Regions from separate parts of the Homo sapiens genome. Here region 1 is linked to region 2. The links are contacts of gene promoters, found by promoter capture Hi-C in blood cells and fetal thymus (Javierre and others, 2016). All regions are on one chromosome and are shown on one strand. The core of a region is centred on a gene start or on the middle of the fragment in contact, and the rest is flanking DNA. Distances in the headings are between cores, read along the strand shown. Region 1 overlaps SATL1 (spermidine/spermine N1-acetyl transferase like 1). Region 2 holds the start of POF1B (POF1B actin binding protein).

Region 1 (2,700 bases), core at 5-2,504, 240 kb before region 2:
TATTTACGTTATATCCCTAGAATTTTTTTCAAAGGCATTTTGGTTGTTCCATATTATTGTCCCTTTAATTAACATGGTTTGTCAGAATACTTTTGGCTGCAAGTAAGAGAACACCCAACTAAACATATTTTAAACAGCAAAGATTTATTAATAAATCTCACATAACAAGAAGTCTTAAGTTAGGCAGTCCCAGGCTTGATTCATTAGTTCACTGAGGTTATCAAGGACCCTATTTTTTTCCCCATCTTTCCGCTCTGGAACCTCCAGTTTATTGGGATGATTCTTCTCAGAGTTGCAAGATGACTGCAGCCATTCCAAGCATCACATCATGACACAGCTGTATGCAAAGCAGGCAGAAAGGGGCTGCAAGGGAAGGCTGCCCTTTCCTTTTTTACTGAAGAAACTTTCTGAGAAACCCCAGCAAACTTCCCCTTATGTCTCATTGGCTAGAATTGTTCCATGTGGCCACTCCTAGCTGCAAGACAGGCTGAGATAACAGTAATTAACACTCCCAGCCTCTGTTGGGAGAAGAAAGGTGTTTATTGGGCAATATGTTGTTAGATAGGTAACCACCATTATGTGCTTCACATAGATAATTTACAGCTAACCTTAATGTCTTAGAAAGGATATAGATGAAGAAAGGCAATATTAACTACACCCATAGTATATTGGATGTGTAAGCTGAAATGTTGCCTTCCTATGACTTGTCAGTCTGATAGTCTTGATGCTACTGTATTTCTGAAGTCTCACCATATGGTAGGACTTTCTAAGTGTGTCACAGTGAATTTGCTCCATATTGGCTGGAAGTTTCAGGAAAATAGAATTTGGTTTAATAGAAAGAAGTATATTTCTGACAGAGCTGGTTGTTTCCAGAAGGTTTGAAACACATATCACCAAAATGTTTAAGTAGAGTGCTTCAGTTTACAATAACAACAATAATAATTACAATAATAACATATAAATTCTGAATCAAGAGATACTCAGCCTCCTGTCAAAAACCAATGGATTTTTGTAGAGGGAATTCATGTGGAGCTTAGATAAAGAATTAGAGTCTATCTATGATTTATAACCTTTTGTATCTTATTTCTTACTAAAAACTCAAATAATTATTTGTCTCTTACCATAATGAAAACAAATAAACAAAAATGCCTGTTTTCCAAAAATGTGCATGTATATTTTCATAATATTGTACTAATATTAGGTTGGTGCCAAAGTAATTGCTGTTTTGCCATTAAAAATAATTGCAAAAACTGCAATTACTTTGGCACCAACCTAATAATATTAAGTACATACTTTATTGCTATGATATTATAAAACAAGGAGATCATTTTTTAGAAATTGAAGTAGAGGCCGGTCACGGTGGCTCACGCCTGTAATCCCAGCACTTTGGGAGGCTGAGGCGGGTGGAACACGAGGTTAGGAGATCGAGACCATCCTGGCTAACACGATGAAACCCCGTCTCTACTAAAAATACAAAAAATTAGCCAGGCGTGGTGGCGGGCACCTGTAGTCCCAGCTACTCAGGAGGCTGAGGCAGGAGAATGGCGTGAACCCGGGAGGAAGAGTTTGCAGTGAGCCGAGATCACACCACTGCACTCCAGCCTGGGTGACAGAGCGAGACTCCATCTCAAAAAAAAAAAAAAAAAAATTGAAGTAGAGTTGTTGAAAGCAAACAAATTATACCAGGTCAAGGTAAGCTGGGTAGATAAAAAATTATCTGTATTAACAGGTGGCATGAAAGTTCAACCTGAAGCTCTCATGAAACTGCAATTTTATTAGTGGCAAGAAAGGAAGAATGGTGAATAAAGTACAATAATAGATACATTCCAGCAGAAATACTTACATAAAAATAAATACACATGCCAGTAGGTGGGGAGAAGAGTGGATTCTGAGACACACATGGGCTACAAGGTTAATGATAGCTTGTCAAGGTGACTTAGATGGAAAATATATGGCAGATATGATTAGGTGAATTGGCGTCCTGACAAATGTGGATCTAAGGAGAAAAAGAGAGAAAATATCCTAATGAAAGCCTGGTATCCCAACTGGATTACATCTGTATTTGTTTCCTTACCAGATACTTCCTTCTCTGTCTTCTCTTTATTTTCTCCTCCTGAAAACTCTCCTAACTTTTGTTTATCTTTTTCTGCCCTCTTCCACTTTCATTTCTTTCTCTTATCTTTTCTTCATCTCTTCTCTTTGCCAGTGATACCCAATGATGTCCTCAGATGATTGTTCAGCACTCTTGGTGGCTGTAAGGTCAGAGATCTCTGGTTATGAGCAGGGTTGGAAAATGTATTAGTAGCAATATGTTTCAAGCAAAGGTTTAACTTTGGCAAATAATAAAACATGAACCTTAGTACAAAGATGAACAAATAGTTCTTGGAAATAATAAATGGCTATGACTGAACTCAAGTGGTATACAACTCATACACAATTCGTGCATGTTCCATATACAGGAAGTATAGATATGGGGATCTGACAAGTGTACAACCAAAAAGTTAACTGGTAATTTATACATGCTGTAAAGAACAAGTTCAAAATCCATGGTCCCTTATCTCCTATATAAACCATTCACAATCTCTGCTGATTGCCTCTCCTAATTGCAGCAGTCTTTAAATGTAGTTGTCAAGACTGCCTTCTTCTATCTTACTCTCATGATGGTGGATCGCTTGTTTATACTGTCTTGAATTCTGTTCA
Region 2 (2,737 bases), core at 211-2,710:
AAAAATAATATGTATTACTCCTGATTGGTAATAATAATGTAACATAGCATCATATCCCAATGACTGCTTTTTGAGATTTTTGTATCTTAAAAACATAATTTCAGTTTGGACAGAATTTTCCAGAAAGCTTAAAACATGCAAATTTAATGTAAAAGGAGTCAGAGGATAAAATACACATAAAGCTGTTAATTTTATACAGTCTTGCAGGGTTACCTTGTATTTATTGGGAAGGTTATTAACACAGGTATTGGTGCTAAGAATAACTCTTAAGAAACAAACGTATTTCATTTTATGGGATGTCTTAGAGTTCCATCTTTTGTAGCTTTCATGTAACAATTGCTTACATCTTGCCTTCCTCAATCCTATATCAACTCTTCCAGTACTCTTTCTACAAGTATTCCATAAATTATTCACCTAGGCTGTACGATAAAAAGTGTGTCATTCTTGGAAGATGAAACACATATGACAATTCAGACATCTGCACCTCTCACTTATCCTGGAGCAGCTATACTATTTGCTGAGCACAAATAATTGCTTATCACTCAGACATGCCACAGTACCTGTATCACCATATTTGATACCAAAAAAAACCTGTTTGCTTCTGATATGAAATTAATCAGTAGGAACTTGTTCTAATAAAAATCTACTGTACTCAAGTTGAGAACTGCTTTGCAGTAGGGGCAAAGGGATTCCTTGGATCAGATCTTTCAGTCAGATCAAACAGAAAATGAGCCTTCCTATACTATGGTTAGATTATGAAAATCAGTGAAACCCGGAAACAAACAACCACAGACACTAGTAAGTGAAATAACAGCCAAGAGATGAATTTGGGTGACTATCCAAGGCATATATAACTGCAATCCACCAAAAGATATCCTGTGGAATAGAGGCAAAGAAGCAGAAAGGAAGAGAAATCAGGTTGAAGATTGCCTTTCTCCACTAGTCTGGCATAGCTTTCTTTGTTGTACCTGAGAATGGTCGCTCCAAACCAAATTTTGGTAGGAGGAGGTGGTTTTGAGAGGGGAGAGCACTTCCCGTGAGTTGAAGGGGTCCAAGGCCTGCACCACCTTGTTCATGGGCCCACTGTAGGTCCTCACTCGCTCATACACTACATTTTTTTCTGGAGGCTGCTGGGCTTGGCTTGACTGATGGTAGCAGTGGTAATGCTGGGGCTGGCACTGCAGCACCTCTGGGAGCTGCTGGGTTCCACAGCTGCTGCTGCTCGTCTCACTCCAATAGCTCGAGCTCATCTTCTTCCAGTGGTCAGCAAGGGACCTCCCAGATGTTCTACCTAAGGAACAAACAGAGAAATATAATGGAAAAAAAAGACAGGCAAGCAGGCAGTCAGGCAGGCAGACAGACACACGACACACGTGTGGAAACCGCTTATCAAAACCTCTGCCAATAGTGGTGCCGGGAAGAGAAGAAAGCTACCTGAGCAGCAGCAAGAGCAGGTCTGGCAGCTACAGAGGAAGCAGCAAAATATTTGAGCTCAAATGGAAAATGGAGCCACCCTGTGACATTGCTCCAGGAAATGGTACTGACACGCCCTTAGGGGCGGATTCACTTAGCAGGTTTACATGCCAGGAGAGGCCCTGCCTTGCCACGGAGATAGCTACAAGGCTGCCCAGCAGGTAAAGGAGTCTGTGAAGAGCAGAAATGTAGAATGTCAGGGATGAAGCCAGAGTTTCCAAGCACATGGGCTTAAAAATTCACAAAGACATGAAAATGCAAAAAACTTGCTAGAGAAAAAAAGTCACACATGTTATATGAAAGTGTCTTTTTATGGTTCTTAAGTTTAGCAAAGGTAGTTACCAGCATAAGTATTATTATTCCAGATTCCCAGACTAAAATAATGAGTATTAGTCTAGGAATACACCAATTTTCACAGATAAATTTGCATTCTTTGCAAAACCCATCTGATAATTGCAGTTAAGGAAGATTACTAAGGGGTCTCTTTCTAGTGACTCTGTCTAATATATGGACTTGTTTATCTTACTCAAAGCCTCGTATTCTTTTCTATCATTTGTTGAAGGAAATTTGTCTAAATGATTGAATTGCTGTATAGAAAGGTGGATGGTCAAGAAAAACCTAAAGATTCCACAAATGCTTTGCATTTTGGCATTCACATTTGTTGTTTTTCATTTATGCAAGGGAATTTCTCCTGCCCTTATATGTGCCCTAGGAAACACTGAGTTTGATTGACTTTTTAATATCTAGTTATTAAGGGAGCTGCAAGTCCTGAAAGATGCCTTAACTGACATAATGAGATTTAAATGTGTTTACAACTTACATTTATTACTACTTGAAATTTTGATCATAATGCCTACTTACCCTCAGATTTTGCTATGCAATATACTTCAGCACCACTTAAATCCAGAATACTCTCATTCAAAGTGACTTTAGTAAAAAGTATCTTCCTAATGTGTATATGTGCAATAGGACCTAGTATACTACCACCATTCTAGAGAGGAAGAGAATGTTATCCAGGGGGCTAGCAGCATTTTTTTTCTGCCCAGTGAACAAAGTGTTATGATTTACTATTCACTCTGTGTCAGGTACTGTTCAAGGGGTTTTATGTGGATTATAATTATTTCATCATTGAAGTGACTTTATGAGGTTTATAGGTGAGAAACTGAGGCACAGACATGGAGAGTTTGAAAAACTTTCCAAAGTTAAATAACCTGTAAATGGTGGGCCTGGCATTTTAACATATGGAGATTCATATTAGAGTCTA

Evidence for each region. The method cuts DNA at HindIII sites, captures the fragments that hold promoters and counts their contacts. A CHiCAGO score of 5 or more calls a contact.
Region 1: a contact is called between a fragment that was not itself captured here and the fragment with the promoter of POF1B in region 2, in 1 of 17 cell types (M2 macrophages). The highest score is 5.2, in M2 macrophages.

What each region holds. Positions count from the first base shown.
Region 1 is chrX:85,140,767-85,143,466 of GRCh38, forward strand. The region is part of intron 2 of SATL1 (spermidine/spermine N1-acetyl transferase like 1); the gene reads right to left. Among named protein-coding and RNA genes, the nearest start is that of SATL1, 100 kb to the right of the region's middle. The HindIII fragment of the contact is 4,774 bases long and covers 1-2,700 here.
Region 2 is chrX:85,378,205-85,380,941 of GRCh38, forward strand. POF1B (POF1B actin binding protein) reads right to left here and starts at 1,461. Exons shown (of 17, transcript NM_024921.4): 1 at 1,435-1,461; 2 at 969-1,291. The coding sequence starts at 1,250. The HindIII fragment of the contact is 3,418 bases long and covers 126-2,737 here.